Regions from separate parts of the Homo sapiens genome. Here region 1 is linked to region 2. Evidence: promoter capture Hi-C in 16 types of primary human blood cells and fetal thymus (Javierre and others, 2016). All regions are on one chromosome and are shown on one strand. Each heading gives the region's core, a stretch centred on a gene start or on the middle of the fragment in contact. The rest is flanking DNA. Distances are from core to core; before and after follow the strand shown.

Evidence for each region. Contacts are between HindIII fragments. The CHiCAGO score rates a contact against its expected background, and 5 or more counts as called.
Region 1: the fragment with the promoter of GRHPR here is called in contact with a fragment that was not itself captured in region 2 in 1 of 17 cell types (neutrophils); the score reaches 5.7 in neutrophils.

Annotation. Positions count from the first base shown.
Region 1 is chr9:37,418,540-37,423,963 of GRCh38, forward strand. It overlaps GRHPR (glyoxylate and hydroxypyruvate reductase), which reads left to right and starts at 4,157. Exons shown (of 9, transcript NM_012203.2): 1 at 4,157-4,294. The coding sequence starts at 4,212. It overlaps LOC105376035 (a long non-coding RNA gene), which reads left to right. Exons shown (of 4, transcript XR_007061479.1): 4 at 1-969. RefSeq lists enhancers at 3,503-4,128, 4,129-4,754 and a silencer at 3,969-4,118. The HindIII fragment of the contact is 7,938 bases long and covers 1-5,424 here.
Region 2 is chr9:36,397,128-36,403,017 of GRCh38, forward strand. RNF38 (ring finger protein 38) reads right to left here and starts at 3,142. Exons shown (of 12, transcript NM_022781.5): 1 at 2,970-3,142. The coding sequence starts at 2,981. It overlaps LOC124902152 (a long non-coding RNA gene), which reads right to left. Exons shown (of 2, transcript XR_007061475.1): 1 at 4,767-5,890; 2 at 4,338-4,458. RefSeq lists an enhancer at 3,102-3,171 and silencers at 3,382-3,711, 3,742-4,201. The HindIII fragment of the contact is 5,581 bases long and covers 1-5,362 here.

The DNA.
Region 1 (5,424 bases), core at 2,907-5,406, 1.0 Mb after region 2:
CCTCCCCCAAAGCAATGCACACAGCTGGGGCTCAATAAGTGCTACTGGGTGGTAGGAACAGAGCCAGCTGAGGGCACAGGAAGAGGGATCTGCTAAGCAGAGGAGGCCTGACCTGGGCTTCATTGGGTAAAACCAGTCATCATAATAAGTAGCTGGCATTTCGGGAGCTCTTAGTTAGTTCCAGACACTGCCCTGAGCACTGGACATGGTCACTCACTAACGTTTCCATGTTTCAGTATCTGTGGGGTGCATATGTTGCTCTCCCCAGTCTACAGACAGGAAGCTGCAGGCAAGAAAGATGAAGTCATTTGCTTAAGTCACACCATTACCAAGAGGCCGAGCTTGGATTCACACCCAGCACCCTGGCTCCAGACCCAAGCTCTCAACCACAATACAAGCCTGTGGAGTGGGAGGGGTGAAATACATGAGTGAGGGGTGACTTCTAGGTATTGGCTTGGGGTGGCTGTCCCTTTGATGGATATGTGGGAGGAGCGCAGGTGTCAGGTGAGGTATTGGGGAGAAGGTGGATGAATTGGGTTTGGCAGGTGTTGAGTTCCAGATACCTGAGGATGCTCAGGTGGAGGAGGCAGGAGAGAGGCGGCTTATGGCTCTGAAGCTGGGTGATGGGGGCTGGAGCTGCTCACTCCAGAGTCATCAGCGTAGAAGCGCAGCCTGGGAGACACCTGAGCGATGAAGGGGCAAGGCCACAGCTAAGGCAGGGGAATTGATATTTAGTGTGCAAGGATTCAAAATGACAGCAAGAAAAGAAGTGTTTTAGAGACTATTACTATTATTATTATTGAGACAGAGTCTTACTCTGTTGCCCAGGCTGGAGTGCAGGGGTGCAATCATAGCTTACTGTAACCTTGAACTCCTGGGCTGAAGTGATACTCCGGCCTCCGCCTTCCGGGACTCAGCCACCACAACCAGCTAACTTTTAAATTTTTCTGTAAAGACAGGGTGGGGGAGCCTCCCTATATTGCCCATGCTGGTCTTGAACTCCTGACCTCAAGCAGTCCTCCAGCTTTAGCCTCCCAAAGTGCTGGGATTACAGGAATCAGCCACCAAACCTGGCCAAATGCTATTTTTATTTATTTTATTTTATTTATTTATTTTTGAGACGGAGTTTTTTTGTTTGTTTGTCTTTTGTTTTCTTTTGAGACAGAGTCTCGCTCTGTCGCCCAGGCTGGAGTAAAGTGGCGTGATCTTGGCTCACTGCAACCTCCACCCCCTGGGTTCAAGCAATTTCCTGCCTCAGCCTCCTGAGTAGTTTGGATTATGGGCACCTGCCACCAAGCCTGGCTAATTTTTTTGTATTTTTAGTAGAGACGGGGCTTTACCATGTTGGCCAGGCTGGTCTCGAACTCCTAAGCTCAGGTGATCCACCCGCCTCAGCCTCCCAAAGTGCTGGGATTACAGGCGTGAGCCACCGCGCCTGGCCAAGTGCTATTTTTAAATGAATGTTTTCTTTATTTTGAGGGTAGATAATAAATGCACAAGATGCAAATTCCCAAAGGGTGAAAATTGTGTCTCTCTTACTCTGTCCCAGTTCACCAGGTCTTCTCCCCAGAGGCAGCCACTGTCCCCAGTTTCTTCTTTTTTCTTTTTCTTTTTTTTTTTTTTTTTTTGTTAGAGACAGGGTCTCACTCACTCTGTTGCCCAGGCTGGAGTGCAGTGGCACAATCACAGTTCACTGCAGCCCCAGCCTCCCAGGCTCAAGCAATCTTCCTACTTCAGTTTCCCAAGTAACTGGGACTACAGGTGTACACCACTACGCCTGGGTAATTAAAAAAAAATTTTTTTTTGTAGAGACAGGGTCTCGCTATGTTGCCCAGGCTTGTCTCAAACTCCTGGGCTCAAGCAATGCTCCTGACTCAGCCTCCCAAAGTGCTGGAATTACAAACCATGAGCCACTGCACCTGGCCTGTTCCCAAAGAAACAAGAAAGATGTTTCTTGTACATCTTTCCAGGGATATTTAACACACAGAAATAGGTGGCCAGGTGTCGTGGCTCACGCCTGTAATCCCAGAACTTTGGAAGTGGATCGCTTTGAGCCCAGGTGTTCGAGACAAGCCCGGTCAACATAATGAAACCCTGTCTCTACAAAAAATACAAAACATTAGCTGGGTGTGGTGGCACATGCCTGTGGTCCCAGCTGCTCAGGAGGCTGAGGCGGGAGGATCATTGGAGCACAGGAGGTAGAGGTTGCAGTGAGCCAAGATTGCACCATTGCCCTCCAGCCTAGATAACAGACTGAGATCCTGTCTCAAAAAAAAAAAAAAAAAAAAAAAAAAAAGAATAGGCATATACTTTCTCCTATAAATGGTAACATATGCACTTTGCATCACCCTGTTTTCTCACTGGACAGTACATCTTGGAGATCATTCCACACTGGTACGCACAGAGCTGCCTCACTCTTTTGATTGATGCAGAGTATTTCACTGTGGGAATGAAGCATACGTAATGAACAGTCCCCTATGAGTGGACCTTTAGGTTGTTTCCCATATTTTACTATTCCAACAATGCCACAATGAAGAGCCTTTGGCAGATGGCATTTTGCACATGTGTGAACGCGTCTGTAAGGTAAATTCCTAAAAGCAAAATTTCTGGGTCAAAAAAGATGTGCAGTCTAAACTTTGATAGCTACTGCCAAACTTTCTTATTGAAGTTGCTGATTTACACTCCTACCAGCAACGTATGAAAGCACCTGGTTCCCCAATGTATTATTTTTTACATTGGTATCTTGCTGTAATTTTAATATGCAGTTCTTTTGTGAGTCAAGTTGAGCACTTTTCATCTTTTGTTTTTTTTTTTTGTTTGTTTTGTTTTTTTTTGTTTTAGATGGAGTCTCACTCTGTCACCCAGGCTGGAGTGTAGTGATGGGATCTCGGCTCACTGCAACCTCCATCTCCTGGACTCATGAGCAATTCTCCTGCCTCAGCCTCCTGAGTAGCTGGAATTACAGGCATGTGCCACCATGCCCACCTAATGTTTGTATATTCAGTACAGACAGAGTTTCACCATGTTGGCCAGGCTGGTCTCAAACTTCTGACCTCAAGTGATCCGCCTGCCTCGGCCTCCGAAAGTGCTGGGATTACAGGCATGAGCCACCGCGCCCAGCCATACATTTAAAGGCCATTTTCTTTTCTATAAACTGTCCATTGATATCCTTTGCTTATTCAGATAAGCTGGGCATCTTTGTCTTAGGAACTATTTGTGCAATAAGTAAATCAACCCCTTGTCTATAAAATGAGTTGCAAATATATGGTATTTTTCCCGGTTTGTTGTCTTATGATTTTGTTAATTTTTTTTTTTTAAGATAAACATAAGCCTGGTATTTCCAGGCACCTGGTATTTCCAGGCAGTCTCCCATACAAGCCCTAACCAGGCTTAGTTTCCAAGATCAGATGCATTCAGGATGGTACGGTTAATTTTTCAATGGAGAATTAGTTGTACTCTTATGGCTTCTGGCTTTCGCACACATAGCGTATCACTTATTTATTGCTGCATAAAGAATTACTCCAAAATTGAACGGCTTAGAGCAACAGCAGTCAGTGCATTATCATCTCTTATGGTTCCGGGGTTGACTGGGCTCAGCCAGTGATTCTCCTAAAGGCTCTTTCTTGCAGTTTTAGCTGTAGTCAGGTGGGAGTTGGCCTGGAGTCACCCGAAGGCTTCCTCACTCATACCTCTGGTCATTGACGGTGGCTGTGAGCCGGGCCCCTGGCTGTGCTGTTGGCCTGAACACCTACACGTGACCTCTCTGTGTGTCCTGGACTTCCTCACAGCCTGGAACCTGGGTTTCTACCCTGGGCCAACCCAAGAGACAGAAAAAGTGGGGGCTTTCAGTCTCTTAAGGCCTGAGCCTGTGGAAACAGGACCCTGAGCGTGTAGAAAAAGCAGGGCTCCCATGAGGCCTTGGACGGGATACTGCCCCCTCTCCCCCGGGGCCCTGATTCCCCAGTGGCACGAGGCGCACCCCCCCACACACACACAAGGACACTGTGTAGGGTCACTGTTACTGTCACTCCCCGAGCACGCACAGTCACCGCTCAGCCGCAACCCGGCGCTCCCTCTCGCGAAGCCACACCCCCTGCGCACGCCGCGCGCGACGTCTCTCCCGCCCACTCCAGCCTGGCCCCGCCCCGGCCCAGCTACATTCCCGGGCCAGCTTCTGTACTGCCAGGTCCGGGTCGGCGGCTGCACTGCGGATGAGACCGGTGCGACTCATGAAGGTGTTCGTCACCCGCAGGATACCCGCCGAGGGTAGGGTCGCGCTCGCCCGGGCGGCAGAGTAAGAGCCTCGCGCGCCGTGGAGGAGGGAGCAGGGCGGTCCCAGGGACCGGAGAGCCGGGCGGGGCGTTTGGGCCTTGTGGCCGGCTGGGGCAGGCTTGGAGTTTTGGGGAGTCTCGGAGAAAGTTCTCTGGGGCCCAGTTCTCCTCTTAAGACGACGCTGGGACCTGCAGTTCCGGCTTTGGAGAGGGGAGATTGCCCCTGAGGCAAGGTCCAGGCTAATTCTCCACGCTCCCACAGGACATGTGGGGTCAGGGACATGGCGGTCACTGACCAGGCCCTTGGACGTTTGGCAGGGGGCTTTGATGACTCTTCTTCTTTATATTTACTTATCTTTTTTTTTTTTTTTTTGAGACAGTCTCACTCTGCTGCACAGGCTGGAGTGCAGTGGCTCGATCGATCGTGGCTTACTGCAGCCTCGACTTCTTGGGCCCAATCAGTTCTCCCACCTGAGCCTCCCGAGTAGCTGGGACTACAGGCGCAAACAATCACTACCGGCTAATTTTCTGATTTTTTTTTTGTAGAGATGGGGGTCTCACTCTGTTGCTCAGGCTGGTCTCAAATTCCTGGGCTCAAGCAATCCTCTTGCCTCAGCCTCCCAAAGTGTTGGGATTACAGGTGTTAGTCACCATGACTGGCCTGAGGACCCTTTAATTTTTAAGACAGGGTCTCACTCTCATCCAGGCTGGAGTGCAGTGGCACCATTATACCTCACTGCAGCCTCAACCTCCTGGACTCAAGAGATACTTCCACCTCAGCCTCCCAAGTAGCTGGGACTACTACAGGCATGCACTACCATGCCTGGCTAATTTTTTATTTTTTTCAAAGACGAGGGTCTCACTGTGTTGCCCAGGCTGGTCCTGAACTCCTGTACGAAGGGATCCTCCCACCTCAGCCTCCCAAAGTGCTGGGATTACAGGCATGAACCACTGCACCTGGCCCACCCTTGCTAAATGGAACCCTTTTTGTGGGCCAACCTTGCCAGGTGCTTCATATACATAAACTTTTAATCCTGGTAGCACTGTGAAGTCAGTATTATAATTCCCATTGCACAGATTAAAAACTGGAGGCTGGACTTAGGGTTAAGTTTCTTCCCAAAGCCATGCAGCTCCCAGGTGGAGGAGCTGGGGC
Region 2 (5,890 bases), core at 1,322-3,821:
TTTGCTCTTGTTGCCCAGGGTGGAGTGCAGTGGCGCAATCCTGACTCGCACAATCCTGACTCACTGCAGTCTTCACCTCCTGGGTTCAAGCAATTCTCCTGCTTCAGCCTCCAGAGTAGCGGATTACAGGTGCTGGTCACCACACCCGACTAATTTTTTTATTTTTAGTAGAGACAGGATTTCATCATATTATTCAGGCTGGTTTCAAACTCCTGACCTCAGGTGATCCACCAACCTCGGCCTCCCAAAGTGCTGGGATTACAGGCGTGAGCTAAAAAATAATTTAAAAATAATTTTGAAAAGCTAATAGGCAGTATTAGGAGAAACCATTCAAGGACTGGTACTATGTGGGTGAGGATGTTCATTACTGCCCAGCACCGGACAATCATTTCTAAACAGAAATTATGGTTCCCACTCTTGAGTTAGGCAAACAAACAGGACCCATCTCTTTCTGAGAGCACAGCAGAAATAGGGTGTGTGAAAACAGCCTAAGGCTCCCCTACTTCCTTTCCCCAGTCCACAATCCCATAAGGTGATGAAAAAGAAGGAAAAGGGAAAAGAAAACAGATGCAACGAAAGAAATCCTCTATCCATTACACAGAGAATGCAGAAATAAAGGGTAGGAAAAATAAGAGTTACATATTTTAAATAAACTTTTCTTTCCTTCCCTTCCAAAATCTAAATTTGCCTACACAAAGATTTTTCTCCCCTCAAAGAAGTATGTCTAAAATCGTTTTACTTAGGTTGGTTACCACAAAGAATTACACAGATGTGAAAAAATATCTAGACCACAAAAGTCCAAACCAATAAAAAATTTTATACACTCTCTCCCTCTCCCTCTCTCCAAACACACACACGGCGCACACACATATAATTACTTACACAATAATTGTGGGTTTTACAATAGTTGGAAAAAAGAGGTATGATTGAGTTATAATTTTATTAAATAACAATCATAATTCAAATAATTATTGCTTGCCTGCCATATGCTGGATGCTGTGACTACAAAATGGGAAAAAGAAACAGTCCTTACCCTTAAAGCAACTCAGTCTAGTGAGGGACAATTAATAACAGGAACTACAAGAAGATAATAGGGCTCCATAACCTAGATAGAAGAGGTGAAAAGTTCAGATCCTTAACAAAGGGAAAGATCTAAGGCAGGCAGGCTCCATGGCAAACACCTGTAGTCCTAGTTACTCAGGAGGCCAAGAAAGGAGGATCACCTGGGCCCAGAAGTTCGAGTCCAGAAGGGACAACATAGCAAAACCCGTTTCTGGAAAAACTAAAATTAAAAAAAAATTTTTTTAATGAAAGATGTAAGAGTTGGGAAGAGACTGTGTACATGACCCCTCTTCTTCATCTGTTTATTCTAAATTTCTCTCATTAATTTACTATATAGAGTTCAAGTATTAATGCTTTATCTCCTCTAGATAACGTCGTATTAATTAACGTTTGCTGATGAACTAGACAAGAACTATACTGTTCAAATCCATGTTTACAATCTGTTCGCTCTTTCCAGAGAAAAGGCTGTGAGTTAAGTAGAGTAAAATGGAAGTGAAAACTGTCTGACATGTTTTCTTAGCAGGAAAACCAAAACAAACACAACGCAACAATCAAGACTAATTAAGAACTACCTTTCCAGCAAGATGAATTACAAAATGGTGGTGGCCTAAACCAAACTAGAGGTAGTACAGAGAAATAGGTGGAATAAACTAGAAGACATAATCTTGACCAATAATCTTTCCATACTGAGCAAGTACCTAATCATTTCAGAAACTTTTATCATAAGAATTTCTCACCCACACTTTCCACTCACAGCCTCAAAAAAAGAAAGTGAGCACAAACAGAAACAGCCTAGGAATGTAACATGAATTAAAAGCCTCATCCAATGCTGTTGGCAGAGAGACAACAGATCTACACTCTACATTATGATGCTAACAGTCAGTTATGTCTGACTATGCCATCTTGTTTACTCTTCATCAAAAATTAGGTTATTTTAGTAGAGAAAATTCTCCTCAATATTCACCCAGAGTAATACTTGACAATTTAACTATAAAAACAAGATGGGCATATAAAGCCCAACAAGTATGGAAATACGAACTACCTTCTAGAATCACAGACGAAGTCAGAGGTGGAAAACCCACAGATTATTTAAGTCCAACTTTTTTTATATTTTACAGATGAGAGCCTGAGGCCCACATGACGAGTCTGTGGCAGAACTTATTCAACTATAGGCGCTAAGGCCTTCAAATCTCTTAGAAATAAGTCTTACAGAAATATCATAAAAATCAACTTAAAATTGAATGAACAATGTATGATTAGCAGGTTTGCAAAAGGTGAAATATACCATATTATAAATATATATAATATATTATATAATACCATATTATAAATAAATATATTATAAATATATATTTATAAACCCCAGAGAAAGGAGTATCTGAAGTGACACAATTCCCAGGTAAACTTCCAGTCAGAAATTTCATCTTTTTATTCCAAGTGTGTCCCAGCTTCCCACACCTGATCTGACATCTATATGTATGTGGTTTCGTATTATCTCTACAAAAGTTCTATTTCTTCCATTAGACGGTGTTCCCTGAAGATAGGAACAATTTTACTTCGATTCCAACTGTCCCTATAAAAGGGAATTTTTTTTAAAGCCTACATACAAGGTTTGTTTGCTATTGAAAAAAATTTACGGTAAATTTTCAAGTATAACAACACTCGCAATCAAGGCCAAACAGAATACAGCAGACTTGCAACTCTAAGGTAACAACTGTATTATGAGCTTTGTATACATTTAAGTTTTCATACGTTAAGTCCACCGCTTAAGAAAAAAGAAATGGCAATTCATATAATGGTGGCAATAATTACATGTGTGTGTTTCTACTTACGGTAGAATTAGCATACCCAACTTTTACTGAATAATAGCATATATCATTTTTGCAACACAAAGAAAAATACTTTACCTTACAAGCCATACAGACGTAAACAAAAACTTTATTTCTTTTTGGACCTCAATAACCTGAAACACTCCCGTTTCAAAAACCAACCTCTCTCACGCTTCAACCCTGAAAGGAAGAACTTGCATCCCCTGAGAACAAAACGCAGCCTATCCAGAAACCCACGGAAGCAGAAGGACGCCAGAGAGGACCCTTTCGACCGGGTTCCGCGTTCTCCTGGGTGACATCATTTCACCTGCGTCTCGGCAAAAAGGGAGGGAGCGAGAGAGCGAGGCCATCTGCCGGGCAGCGGGCCGGCGGCTCCGCGAGCTGAGACCGCGCCTCCTCGCCACCGCGGGAACAAAGAGCGCCGGGCGGCCGAGGCAAACCTTAGCCCAAGACTCGGGCGCGGCCCCGCAGGCTCTCAACGGCCCGCAGCCCGTCCCGCCCTCGCGCTGCAGCCAACGGCCGCGGCGGCCAGTACCTGCGAGGGGAGGCTCCGCCCTGCCGGGCAGCTCCCGCGGATCCTCGCTGGGCCGCCGCCTCCTATTGTGACTGCTCGCCCAGCCCGCGGCCAGCTCGCCAGATCCGCCGTCCGCGGGCCTCCTCACCCCCGGAACCCCGGCTCCAACTTAGGCACTGTCACTGCGCTTCCTTCCTCCCGGCACCATCACACGGGCCGCGCCAGGAAACGACGGCTGCACGCCCAGAGATGACAGAGTCGCCTAACGCCTCGGAGGCTCCATCCTCTCCGCCCCCACGCCCCAACCGACCGGGCCTCGGCCCCGTCCCGCAACACCGCACTAGGGGCCCGGCCCGGCCACGCCCCTCCCCGCCCCGCCGCGCCCCGCCGCACCCCGCCTCACCCCGCCTCGGCGATCACAGACCCGGGCTCCCTATGCGCCGGCGCACTGGCCTCCGCTGCGCGCGCAGGCGACTCCCCTCGCCGCTAGGCCGCGACACGCGCGGTCCTCCCACTTCTTGGGTCCGGGTCGCCCGTCCCACCCCGTCCCCTCGCCAGCACAAACCTAGCGAGCCCAGCGCGCCAGACCACCGGAGCGCTCCTCCCTTTTCCCCCAGGCTCCGCACCGCGCGCCGAACCCCCTTTGTTTCCACCCCGAGGGGGAAGGGGGCGGGGCGGGGCGGGGCGGGGCTGCGCGCGGCCCGGCGCACGACTCGGACCAGTTCCGGCAACAGAGCTCCGCGCGCAGCACCACTGCGCAGCCCCGCCCCAGCCCGCCCCCCGCTGCCCTGCGGACCGCAGGGCCCTGTTCCAATTCCTATAGATTTTCTCTTAGTAAATTGTTGCTACTGTTCCGTGCCTCCTACCTACAAAACTCCGCAATCAAACAGTAACTGACCTCACGTAGTTCTTACAGCATAAATGCATTCACGTGGCCCGAAAAGTAAGAATTTTTATTGCAGTACACAAAGGTGTCTCTCAATGCAGCAAGCCAACAGGTTCGAACCCAACTTGTCCGAGGCTTCCTTAAGTGTGACAGTTGCTCAGATGTCGCTTGGGGAGGGGAAATAAGAACAAAGATTGAAGCCGGCTTGGCTCCTGTCCTGATAATCACGATACAAGAGAGAAAATAAAAATTTCCACAAAAGCACAATCCATACAAGGAAAAAATAGTAAAGTGGTATCAGACTTAAGGAGAGAGGGCAGTCAAGAGGACATCATGGAAGGGGTGGACTTTTTAAAGCAGAAATTAGATGTTTCCCGCAAGGATGGTGATCATATTTTAGGGTGGTAGAGTAAAATTATTAAGGACCAGTCAACAGAAAACTCGGGTTTTCAAGTTCTAGTTCTTTTGGCATTACTTAAACCAGTCTCTCTTTCCCTCTCTGGGCCTCAGCTGCAACCAGTAGAAAATGGGGGAAATCAGAGTAAATGTTGTTTCAGGACCTTCTGGACCTTGGACATTCTCTTTATGAACAACACTATATGGTAATTATTTATGTACACTTGTCTCCCATATCAGACTGAGCACCCAGACTCTGTTGGGACTGTGTAAACTAAACCCAAGGCCCAAGTCTAGTGCCAGAAACACAAGAGAAGGTGTTTAGCAACTGCTGAATCAAAGTTCCAGCAATAACATCATAGGTTTTGGAATTCCAGGACAAACAAAGAGAAGCTGGAAAGAGGTATTAGGTCCCTATGAACATATCCACCCCAAACCCATACTCGAATTATGTAACCCAGTTAACCAGCTGGCTGGCTCTCTCCCAAAGCAGCCAGTTTGGAGATGATCACATCTAAACTTGTTTTTTTTGTTTGTTTGTTTCACTTCAAGGTAAAGTGCCAACCATACCTTTAAGTTTATCCAATGTATCCTATTTTCTATCCTCTGTATCCCTCACAAATCGCAATCTACTGTGGATTCGCCTTCCAATTACAGATCTTCCACCAGAATCTAAGCTTAAAAAAAAAAAAAAAAATCCTCCCTACAGAACGCAGACCACCCTGAAGTAGCTTTTCCTCCAAGCTTGGATAGGACTATGTGAAGAGAGGGGAAAGGGGAGAAGAACATCAGGAAAGGAAAGGGAAGTTACATTTGGGAGCTATCTAACTGTAAGAGAGGCAGATTCCTCAAGTGCTGAACTCAGCAGCAAAAATCTATTACAGTCCTCCAGCATTCCTCACCTCTAAGCTTCAGCAAATCCCTCTGAGCTTCAGCCAACCTTTTGTGAGGCAAGCTTCCTGAAACCTCTCAAATGGTTACGATCTTCAACAATGCTGTCACAACCCCAGGTTGGATAGTTTTAAATTTCTTCTTCTTTTTTTATTTTTTTTGTATTTTGAGACACGGTGCTCTGTCGCCCAGGCTGGAGTGCAATGGCTGGATCACATCTCACTGCAGTCTCAAACTCCTGGGCTCAGGCAATCCAGGCTAAATTTTTAATTTTCTGTAGAGGCAGGTCTCACTATGTTGCCCAGGCTGGTC